Linked DNA regions of Homo sapiens: regions 1 and 2 are each linked to region 3. The links are contacts of gene promoters, found by promoter capture Hi-C in blood cells and fetal thymus (Javierre and others, 2016). All regions are on one chromosome and are shown on one strand. The core of a region is centred on a gene start or on the middle of the fragment in contact, and the rest is flanking DNA. Distances in the headings are between cores, read along the strand shown. Region 1 has its middle 5.4 kb from the start of AP4E1. Region 2 overlaps AP4E1 (adaptor related protein complex 4 subunit epsilon 1). Region 3 holds the start of CEP152 (centrosomal protein 152).

Region 1 (3,891 bases), core at 338-2,837, 2.1 Mb after region 3:
TAATTGAGCATTAATCAGGCTGCACTCTGACCCACTTCCTTGTAACCAAAAGTCAGGTTACACTACATAGAGACCATTTGCGTTCCCATTGTTCCTATTGACAGAATTTCTGACATTAGGCTTTTTTTTTTTTTTTTTTTTGAGATGGAGTCTCTCTCTGTCACCCAGGCTGGAATGCAGTGATGCAATCTTGGCTCACTGCAACCTCTGCCTCCTGGGTTCAAGCGATTCTCCTGCCTCAGCCTCCCGAATAGCTGCGATTACAGGCACCTGCCACCACGCCTAGCTGATTTTTGTATTTTTAGTAGAGACAGGGTTTCACCATGTTGGCCAGGCTGATCTCGAACTCCTGACCTCAGGTGATTTGCCCGCCTTGGCCCAAAGTGCTGGGATTACAGGCATGAACCACCGCACCTGGCCCACTCAACTAATTTTTGTGTTTTTGGTAGAGACGGGGTTTCACCATGTTGGCCTGGCTGGCCTCAAACTCCTGACCTCAAGTGATCTGTCTGCCTTGGCACGGACTCCCAAAGTGCTAGGATTACAGATGTGAGCCACCGCGCCTGGCCAGGGCTTTTAAGATAGATAGGATCTCTGACATTAGAATCATAAAGGGTTTAAGAACTGCTTAAGCAGATCCTGAATTCCACCTGAACAGCTGATGCCAACCAGTTTAAAAACCCCCAGAGAGGAACGGAATCAATAACATCTCCCTGTCCCATGGCTTCACCCTGCACTCTGATCAATCTCTACACTTTGGCCTACTCCCAAACCTTTAAAATCCCTAGCTCCACATTCCTTGGGGAAATGGATTTGAGGTTTTCTCCCATCTCCTCATCTGGCAGCCCTACAATTAAACCTCTTTCTCTGCTACAACCTGGTGTCTTGGCATATTAACTTGTCACATATTGGGCGAAGGGCCCTATTATGGTTACACTATTTGCTTTAAGTGGATGTTTTGCTGGTACATAATTTTATAACATTGTGCATTGATCATTTGGAAAATATTGGTTCATTGAGTTATGGAGATCTTTCAAATGTTGGCACATTTAATTATACAATATAAAAAATTCATTAACATAATCACCAATTTATCAGAATGGTCTTTATGTATCTGGAAATTATTAAAATTGTAGTAGACAAACATTTTTCAAAATTTTAGTTTTCACTTGAAAGCCTGAATTTATCAGTGGCAACAAATATTGTCAGTTATCTTCCTTGAAGTGTGAAGGAAACCAGACTCTGTCACCCCAAAATATTCCTATTTGACATGAATATTATTTTGAGCTGAAGGCAATTAAGCAGCAGCAAAGGCAGGAAACACTCTCTCTACCCTCCTCCTTTTCTGTTTAAAGGCAGGATACAACTTCCTTTACTGGAGGCAACTCTACCATCTTACTAGCCCAGAGGTGGCACCAGAGGAATGTGCACACAAACCTTACTTCATTAGTTTCTTTCCATATATTTTCCTTCCCCAAGATTCCCAGCCCTGGAAGACTAAAACTGCTTTCCTTTGTCCTGTCATTTCTCTATAAGTTTATTGTATTTTGTTAAAGATGCTATATAAGCCAGAGTTTTACCTTCTTTGAATTACTCATTTCTAGTTATTCCTATGTTATATGCTCCATACATTTTAATAAACTTGCTTGTTTTTTTCACAGGGGACCCAGCCAAGAACTTAGAAGGGTAAGAGAAAAAGATTTTTTTCTTTCCCTACAACTGAAAGACTCACTGTTCATTTTCAAGAAAACTACTGTTTATCGCTTTCAACTAAAAATGGTGTTCCATGAAAAAAAGTGGTTGGTTCAGCTTTCTCTTTTCTTTTTTTTTTCTGAGACGTAGTTTCGCTCTGTCGCCCAGGATGGAGTACAGTGGCGCGATCTCGACTCACTGCAAGCTCCGCCTCCCGGGTTCACGCCATTCTCCTGCCTCAGCCTCCCGTGTAGCTGGGACTACAGGCGCGCGCCACCATGCCCGGCTAATTTTTGTATTTTTAGTAGAGACGGGGTTTCACCGTGTTAGCCAGGATGGTCTCGATCTCCTGACCTCGTGATCCGTCCGTCTCGGCCTCCCAAAGTGCTGGGATTACAGGCGTGAGCCACCGCGCCCGGCCTTCTCTTTTCTTTTTTTGAGACGGAGTCTCACTCTGTCGCCCAGGCTGGAGTGCAGTGGCGTGATCTAGGCTCACTGCAAGCTCCGCCTCCCAGGTTCACGCCATTCTCCTGCCTCAGCCTCCAGAATCGCTGGGACTACAGGCGCCCGCCACCACGCCCGGCTAATTTTTTGTATTTTTGGTAGAGACGGGTTTTGCACCGTGTTAACTAGGATGGTATTGATCTCCTGACCTCGTGATCCCCCCGCCTTGGCCTCCCAAAGTGCTGGCATTACAAGCATGAGCCACTGTGCCAGGCCGGTTCAGCTTTCAAGTTAAACAATGATACAAATGCTTTTCCTTGAGAAACTATCTTATCTCAGTTATGCCTCAAGAATTTTTTCTTTTTCTTTTTTTTTTTTTTGAGACGGAGTTTCGCTCTTGTTGCCCAGGTTGAAGTGCAATGGCACGATCTCAGCTCACTGCAACCTCCGCCTCCCGGGTTCAAGTGATTCTCCTGCCTCAGCCTCCCAAGTAGCTGGGATTACAGGCATGTGCCACCACGCGCAGGTAATTTTGCATTTTTAGTAGAGATGGGGTTTCACCACGTTGGCCAGGCTGGTTTCGAACCCCTGACCTCAGGTGCTCTGCCCGCCTCAGCCTCCCAAAGTGCTGGGATTATAGGCCTGAGCCACCACACCCGGCCAAAAGAAAAGCCTCAGGATTTAAGAGTTTATACTTTATGAGGTTGTACTTTATGAGTACTTCCCATTTTGTCACAAAAAAAATTTTTTAAAAAGTGCACTCAAAGACTGAAATTTAATAAAATTAAGAATTCTTACTGCTTCATCAAGGATATTCTTAAGTGAAACTGACTTAAAAAAAATTGAGTGTATTGTTCCAGGATAAACTATGAGATTCAAAGAAGTTGTTCAATACATTATTTCATCACCACTTGTGTTTCTTGTCAAGATTTATGTAAAAGAGGATCTTCAAGAATTAGTTGGTGCTGACACTGGATGGGTATAAGCAAAGCAACAAGTCCAGCTACATGAATAATTATGTCCATTTTAAAGGAATTATAATTCTGCAGATGACATAGTAACTCAGTCTTTATATTTGCAACTAAATTTCTTTCTTTTTTTTGAGACAGTCTTGCTCTGTTGTCCAGGCTGGAGTGCCGTGGCACCATCTCAGCTCACTGTAACCTCTGCCTCCCAGGTTCAAGTGATTCTCCAGCCTCAGCCTCCCGAATAACTGGGATTACAGGCATGTACCACCATGCCCAGCTAATTTTTTTTTTTTGTATTTTTAGTAGAGACAGGGTTTCACCATATTGGCCAGGTTGGTCTCAAACTCCTGATCTCAAGTTATCCGCCTGCCTTGGCCTCCCAAAATTCAGGGATTACAGGCATGAGCCACCTCGCCTGGCCTGCAACTAAATGTCTAATTTGGTGAGTTATTGCATCTTTGGAAAGTAGCACTCCCATGAGTTCTTTTACTGATTATCAGCTAGCAGGCATTCATTAGTCTTTTAGCTATTGCATGTCCTTCTCCTATCAATGAAATATAATAATTTCATGTGTAAGATGCTTCAGTAGGTTTTTCATTTTTACTTTGAAAATGGTAATACAAAAGCTTTGGCTTTTATAAAGCATATCATCTCTATGTTGAAAGTATTAAATTCCCTTTCTTTTAAATTCTGACTGGTCTGAAAATGATGCCTCAACTTGATTGGCACCATAATAGTATTTGAAAATGTTCTGTTGAATGACATAAAATAAGGCAAGTGATTAACA
Region 2 (3,722 bases), core at 1,030-3,529, 2.1 Mb after region 3:
GAAACCCTGTCTCTACTAAAAATACAAATATTAGCTGGGCATGGTGGCGTGTTCCTGTAATCCCAGCTACTCGGGAGGCTGATGCAGGAGAATTGCTTGAACCGGGACCTGGGAGGCAGAGGTTACAGTGAGCCAAGATCATGCCACTGCACTCTAGCCTTTGCTACATAGCAAGACTCTGTCTCAAAAAAAAAAAATGATTGCTTGAACCAACACCAACAGTTTCTTTCTTTGCAGGCTCTTGGTCCAGTGTTTCACCTTGCTACAGAAACCTTATAGTTCCTGTTGTTTCATTTCCTTTGTTTAGCTTTTCATTGTTATGCTTTTCTCTATATCTGTATTGATAGAGCTTATAACTTACATTGATTATATCAGTGGTAGAGTATTTGCTAGCAATCCTGATATAGGTATTTTACTGCTTAAGAATGTTAATTTTAATTGTAAGCTTCATAAGGGCAGGGACTGTGTCTCTCTTATTAACCAGCATATCTCAGTAGCTGGTACTGTGTTAATGAGTAATATGCTTTAATTGAATTAAAGGAAGAAGAAGTTATTTACTTTATCAGTTATCTAAGTGGGTTTCAGTATTAGTACTTTCTATATTTTATTTTTATGGAAGCTCTATTATTACAATTTAGTGTCTAATCAAGAAATAAATTACATTAAAGACATCTATTGAATATCTGCTATGTGCCAGGCATTGTATAAAGTGGTGTATAGGATATGAAGAAGTATAATATATGACCTTTGTCTTTAAGAAATTCACAATATAGTGGAAAGATAACTTGTTCATGAAAGCTTAATACCAGTGTAAGGCAGAATGTGAAGGGATGGTTCAGGGAAATAAGTATTGTAGGAGTTCCGAGGAAGTAGAGATCATTAAGGGCCTGAGGGCACAGATAGGGATTTACTGATGTGATAGGACCCTGAAAGGTAGATAAGATTTAGATAGGCAGAAGGGAGATTGAAGGGGCTTTTAGGTGGAGGGAACATGAGAGAAGGTGTAGACATGGGGCTATTTAAAAACAGTTTCAGAGACAATGTCTCACCAGTCTGAAAGGATAATTTATGGTGGGGAGCAGTGGAAGGGCGGTATTGTGGAGGACCTGTCACAACAGCCAAATGAGTTTGGATTTGTAAATCCGGAGGTATGGAAGGTTTTTGGATAAGGTACTGATAACATGAGAATATCATTTTTAGTAAATTAGTAAATTGAGAAAATTATATAAAATGGAGTACAAGGGACAAAAGCCATCAAAAGTAGGTAGATAGAAGTACTTTTCCGTTTTTTTTCTCACTAATTTCACCTAAAACCCTTGGATACTATGTATAAGAAACATAAGACTCAGGAAGGTGGAGAACAAGTCAGGCTGGTTAGAGACCTCAGGACACAAGGAAAGAAACAGACACGGTGGTGTGTACCCTGGGTTTTCTTTTTGCCTCGGGTACCCCAGACTGGGTACTGAAGAGCCAGCAGTCTGGAAATGCCAACAGACGCAGACAAAAACACCCCCAGAAAAGCCTGCCCTCTCTCACCAAAGGACCAAGAAGAAAAGGGAAATTAGCAAGGTAGAAAACTTTTAGATGATAACCCCTCTATTCCTTCCAAGCATAGGAAAAAACTGTGGACCCATCCCCTCCAGCAAAGGCTGAGGAAAAAGCCAAGATTTCCATCATCACCAGGTATAATGACATGCCCCAACACACCCTCCCTAACCCCCCACTAGAGTGGTGACAGAAGCCCAAGAGACAGCTGGAATTTCATTGATGCCAGGTGATAAGGAAGGCCCCTTCCTTACGCTGTCAGAGGTGACTTGGGAAGTCTGGATTTTTCCCATCTGGAAGTAGGGAGTAAAGAGGTAATTTTCCCCTCTTTGTGGCCAGGGTTCGGAGGCGTGGGTGTTAGAGAAAGCCTGGTGGACAGTCAGAACTTCCACTCCTGATCAGCGATAATGAGGCCACTCCCTCATAGTGTCACTGGAGGCCACAAAGGAAGCAGTAATGAGGTACCCCTCTCTCTCCCAGGCAGGGTAGAATCAGTTGATACTCCCTCCAACAATAACCAGGAGCCTCTCCATCCCCAGGTATCAAAGGAGACAGAGTAGAGAGCCTGGATTCCATTCCCATTGGGTGATACCTCCTCTCTCCTGCCAGAATAATGTCAGTAGATACTTATTTAACTTAATTAAAGTGAGAGTAAACTCTATTCTGAGGGATAAGGTGTCAGAAGAACTTCACATTTTGTTTGAGCATACATAATCCAACCCAAAATATCTATGATGAAACTGCAGTGTCATAAATGGTGGAACATTATTAATTTTTAATTTAGTAATTTATGCTTTATAGCATTTTAATTAGTACCAAGAGAGTAACCAAGAGTACTGAAGAGTAACCAAGTTCCATGTTGTATTTTTAAGTTTAGAAACCCTCAGTTGTGGCCGGGCAAGGTGGCTCATGCCTGTAATCCCAGCACTTTGGGAGGCTGAGTTGGGCAGATCACTTGAGGTTAGGAGTTCAAAACCAGCCTGGCCAACATGGTGAAACCCTGTCTCTACTAAAAATACAAAAATTAGCTGGCCATGATGGTGCACGCTTGTACTGCCAGCTACTTGGGAGGCCAAGGCAGGAGAATCACTTGAACCTGGGGGGTGGAGGTTGCAGACTGCATCTCAAAAAAAAAAAAAGAAATTCTCAGTTGTATTTTACTTCACCACCACAGAGAGGAGACAGCAGAGTGGCTGCTCTTTCAATTATGAACTTATACTTAGATATTTGTAGAGTTGGAGAATAAAATGACTTAGCTCTGGGTGAGAAAATAATTTAAAAATCAATTTAATTCATTTTCAGCTCAATTATGCCTAAGGAAACTAAAAATAAGTGCTGTTTTTGAACTATTATTTTTTTTCCCATGTTGGCACCCCAGAAACTTTATGAGCATCTGAATATAAACGTTTAAATTTTGGATGGGTAATGGCAGGCTTTTGTTAGTAAAACAATTTAATAGCAAGAGAGTTCTTAATGGTAGGAAGCCGTAATGAAAAATGTGTCAGTTATGTTGGAAAATGGAATATCATCATTTGAAATCTTAGGACTGTCATGGTAGTTCACAGTTCAGCAAACTTTTTCTGAAAAGAGGGCCAGATAGTAAATATTTTAGGCTTTGCAGGTCATGGAGGTTTCTGTCGCATATTCTCCTTTGCTTTTTGTTTTGTTTTTTACAGCCTTTTAAAAATGTAAAAATCTTTCTTTAGTTCACAGGCCTATAAAAATAGGCTGAAGGCTGGATTTAGTGGCATTTTAAAAATAGGCTGAAGGCTGGATTTAGTGGCAGTTTCTCCATTCCTGCCTTATCTTATTAGTCAATTGACTAAGGTTCTCTTTGTTTAGTTTGTCTAGTTCATGAATCATAAAGCGAACTTTTTTCACAGCACAGAGTAAAGACATTTTATAGCATAGCATCTGAATATACAAAGTCTCTTTAGGTTCAGCCAACTTACTCTGTAGTTTTCATTTAAAGTCAGTTCCTTTCTTAAAGAAAAATTAATATATCTGATTTTTTTTCTGTCTCTGTTATAGAAGAGGTTTAAAATTTTTTTTTGTCTTTTCTTTCCTTGTAAATTTGAGAAAAAGACAGAGGTTTATAGAAGTTTTTTCCACAAAATTTATTTGTGCATTAATCGATAGGCAACATAGTGTAAAACATAGCTAGCTGAATATTCAGA
Region 3 (3,660 bases), core at 1,050-3,549:
TTAACATTTACACTAGTAAAATTATTTTGAATTAATTTGTCAATACTATGCCACTAGTAAAAATACTGAAAATTTTCTATATCTATTGACTCAAGGCTGACCACTTGAGAAATCAAGATGCAGATTAAGTATACAGTATGTTTTGGTTTTCTTCTTCAATAGCAGTCTGGTAGACTTTCTTCCTAGATAACTTTTTCTGAACCCTTAACAAGACTATAAAAAGTATGTCTTGTTGTTACACTCAGATGGATGCTCTGACCCAGCATTCCTTTTGTTGTCCCCGGTTGTTTTCTCTGCCCTCCTTGCAACAAAAGCAATGGGTATTTGGACAAAAGATTACAAAGCAAAAGTAGCATTGTTTTTGCTTCATCTAATAAACTATAAGCACCCTGAAGGCAGAATTAAAATGTATCTGCCTGCTTGCACATGGTGGGTACATAACAAATATTTGTTGACTGAATATGATATAGGCATGTTACCTTATACGAATTCATTACTTCAATAAAATTTTATTGAATACCCACTGTGTTCCAGATCATATCCTAGATGCACCTAAGACATGGTACCAGCCATGAGGAGCTCACTGTCTCTGCTCACCCTCTCTTAGATAGAGCCACTGATATAAACAGTTACAATAACATATTGTAATAAATTCCGTAGTAGATGAAAGTACAAAGCACAAATTACTTTTCCTAAGAAGAAAGGATAGTTTAGAGAAGTTTTACAGAAAAAAAAGAGCTTTTAGATTAGAAATAAATCTTAAAGGACACAATATGGCTATAAGTGGTTCTAAGAATGAGGGCACTCATTCAGACAACCTGGGCTCAATTCTGGCTCTTCTATTTATCAGCAGTGCAATCTTGAGCAAACTGTTTCTGCTTCTACGTTAAAGAAATGGGGGTAAAAATAATACCTACTTCAAAGATTGATTCTGAGGATTCACAAGATACTACATGTAAAGTAATTAGCACTATGTACCAATCAATACATTGTAGTTTTATTACTATTATGACATTATTACTGATGAATAGGAGTCTGCCAGCTACCGAAGAGGTTTAGGGAATAAAGAGGATTCCGCATATCTGAGAAAAGGTGAATGTGCAGCCTATGAGAAATGTCACTTCTAATAATGCAACCTCCTATGGAACAAAAATGCCACCCTCCTTCAAGATGCCCTCCCAAGCCTGTTCCCCCATGGAGCTGGCCACTCCTTTGCACTTTCAGACTGTATTTCTTATGCTTTTCTTATGGCTTCAACTTCAGCTTCTCTTTAGTTGAGTGCATTCACCTGTCTAGGGAGTGCATGTTCATTGTCACGCACTATGAAGGTATAAGGTGATAATAGGCTTAAATCAGACTCAAGTTCATGACTACGATATAGGAAGGGTTATAAACCCCCACAAAAGGGGTTTCTAAGAACTGCACTTGGAGTTGGGAAATTCTACTTACTTGCTGACATAACTCGCCTTCTAGAATGGAAATAGCCAGAGCACATAGCCCGGTTTAGACTTGCAACACCTGGTGGAGACACCTTATTCATTCATTCGACAATTTACCAAGCACTGTTCAAGATTACAAAGTTTAACAGGACACGATGAAGGGAAAGAAAATAGACATATAAACAAATGATCACAACATCTTGTGATCAGTGCTAATAACAGCACTTTGGACAAATTGATTCAAGTTGCCCAGAGGGCGGAGCGAGTAATGCTAATACACAATAAGCATCCACAGGCTGAGCGAATGACCTTGAGGAACTGTTTGGCGTCAGCTACGGCACTACAAACATGACCAAAGCCGCACGGGGCCCAGGATGCCCGGGGCTACTGGCTTCGGGTGCCAGCGTCACTTGTACTCGGTCAACACACGTGCACAGAGCACCTACTGTGAGCCAGGCGTGACGCCAGGGTGACCAAGGCGGGGTCCGCAGAGTAGGGTCTCAGGGCGACCCCAGCAGCCTGGAAACGAGGCGGGCTTCCCATATGTCACTTCTAAGTAGGATATTGGAGGAATGAAGAGGTCTAAATGACACGTTAAGGTAAAAGCTGAGCCCGCAACATGCGGGCAGTCCACCACCGCGGGATTTGGGGAGGGGGCAGGTCAGCCCCCCCAGGAACCCTCAGCCAGCATCCCGAGGACCCCGCAACTCCTCTAACCCCAGGTCCAAGCTCACCCGTGAATCAGAACTTACCGGAGGCCACGGAGGCTGTTACCGCGAGGAAACTCTAGTCCTGGCGGAAGACCAACTTCTAGCAGATCCCCTTACCCTGGCTCTAGTCCACTAGCTCCTTCCTAGTCACAACCGAACTCACGGGGCGGAGGCCCTTAAGGAGCACTCGCATCCTTCAATCGCCGACTAGAAGCTCGCCCGGTGGGCGGAGCCGTGCCAGCTCAGGGCAGAGCGAGGAGGCAGAAGTCTCCGCCTTCCTCAAGCTTGGTTGAGAAGTCCACCTGCAGTTGCAAAGTACGGCTGTTTGAAAGCGGGCGCCAGAGGTGGCGGGAAGCTCCCCCTGTGCGCCCATTGGTGGATTCGAGAGCCAATTACGAGGAAGTCACCCCGGAGTGGGCGGGCTGATCGGTTGCCTAGAGACGCCGAGGCGCTTCACCCGCTACCTTCGGCCAGGGTGCAGCAGTCTTACGGGGACCCCTTGCCCGTTTGGTACCGGAGACTGCAAAGGTGACTCGTGCCTCCTGCGCTTCAGCACACAGAATCCCGCAGATTCCCCACCGAACTCTTGCCTTAGAGGTTTTTTACATTTGCCCTTGTTTTCTAAGGCGCCTGCTTCCCCATTATTTAACAGCCTTAGATATTTTGCTTTGTCTTCTACCTTACTAGGTGCCGCTTTGTTTACATTTTTGCTTCTTTAATTACTGATAAGATGGCACATTTTTCCACGTGTCTATTTACTACTCTAATTTCCTCGGGTGTGAGTGTTCTTGTCACTTAGGTGTATATTATTAACCTGCCCCTAAAGACAGCGCCACCCAGTCCTCAGTAAAGCCCAGTACTGTGTCTATCTTCTCTGGCTGAAAGGGTTCCAGTGAATAATCAAGGAATTGGTGGCGGCAGGTTCACATATCCTTTCAACCCTTTCCCATGTGTACTGGCACGGAGTAAAATGGTTGTTCGAGGCTCTTCATACTGTGGCTGGTTTTCCTTTGCTACTTCACCGTCCGCCCCCATGATGCCTACACTGACCCCTGTAACCCCATAAACTGGTATAGGGTTTGGCAAACAACAGGTAATTTAACCCACTGTAATAGAATGAACGAAATCACAGCCTGAGCTAACAATGGTTCCCAGAGCGCTTTTTTTCTTTCACCTGCTGTGAAAGCTGTTTCTTTCACCTGCATCGCCTCTACCTTCTCCTGCTACTTAGTTTTGAAGACAGACTAGCACCTCCTTTGAAGCCTTTCATGACACACACTCCCTCACTTCGCAAAAATGATCTTTCCTACCTCTGTACACAGTGTATCCTATATATCCTATTATAGTTCTTTTATCTACTGTAAGTTTTTGTGTGTCTTACACTCAGTACAACGTGAATATCTTGAAGTACTCACTTTACTTCTTGGGTGTCTAACATGACCCTGGTAGGCACTCAAAACAATTATGTTAAATGAGTAAATGAATAAATGAACAAATAGATGAAGATTTTG

What was found. The method cuts DNA at HindIII sites, captures the fragments that hold promoters and counts their contacts. A CHiCAGO score of 5 or more calls a contact.
Region 1: a fragment that was not itself captured here is called in contact with the fragment with the promoter of CEP152 in region 3 in 5 of 17 cell types (non-activated CD4 T cells, naive CD8 T cells, total CD8 T cells and 2 more); the score reaches 11.4 in non-activated CD4 T cells.
Region 2: a fragment that was not itself captured here is called in contact with the fragment with the promoter of CEP152 in region 3 in 1 of 17 cell types (total B cells); the score reaches 5.8 in total B cells.

Annotation. Positions count from the first base shown.
Region 1 is chr15:50,901,359-50,905,249 of GRCh38, forward strand. No RefSeq gene overlaps it. Among named protein-coding and RNA genes, the nearest start is that of AP4E1, 5.4 kb to the right of the region's middle. The HindIII fragment of the contact is 4,281 bases long and covers 1-3,728 here.
Region 2 is chr15:50,936,755-50,940,476 of GRCh38, forward strand. All of the region lies in intron 8 of AP4E1 (adaptor related protein complex 4 subunit epsilon 1), which reads left to right. Among named protein-coding and RNA genes, the nearest start is that of AP4E1, 30 kb to the left of the region's middle. The HindIII fragment of the contact is 2,966 bases long and covers 797-3,722 here.
Region 3 is chr15:48,808,770-48,812,429 of GRCh38, forward strand. CEP152 (centrosomal protein 152) reads right to left here and starts at 2,300. Exons shown (of 27, transcript NM_001194998.2): 1 at 2,192-2,300. It overlaps LOC124903487 (a long non-coding RNA gene), which reads left to right and starts at 1,929. Exons shown (of 2, transcript XR_007064626.1): 1 at 1,929-2,038; 2 at 2,162-3,140. RefSeq lists enhancers at 1,450-2,011, 2,670-2,729 and a silencer at 2,304-2,494. The HindIII fragment of the contact is 4,992 bases long and covers 1-2,431 here.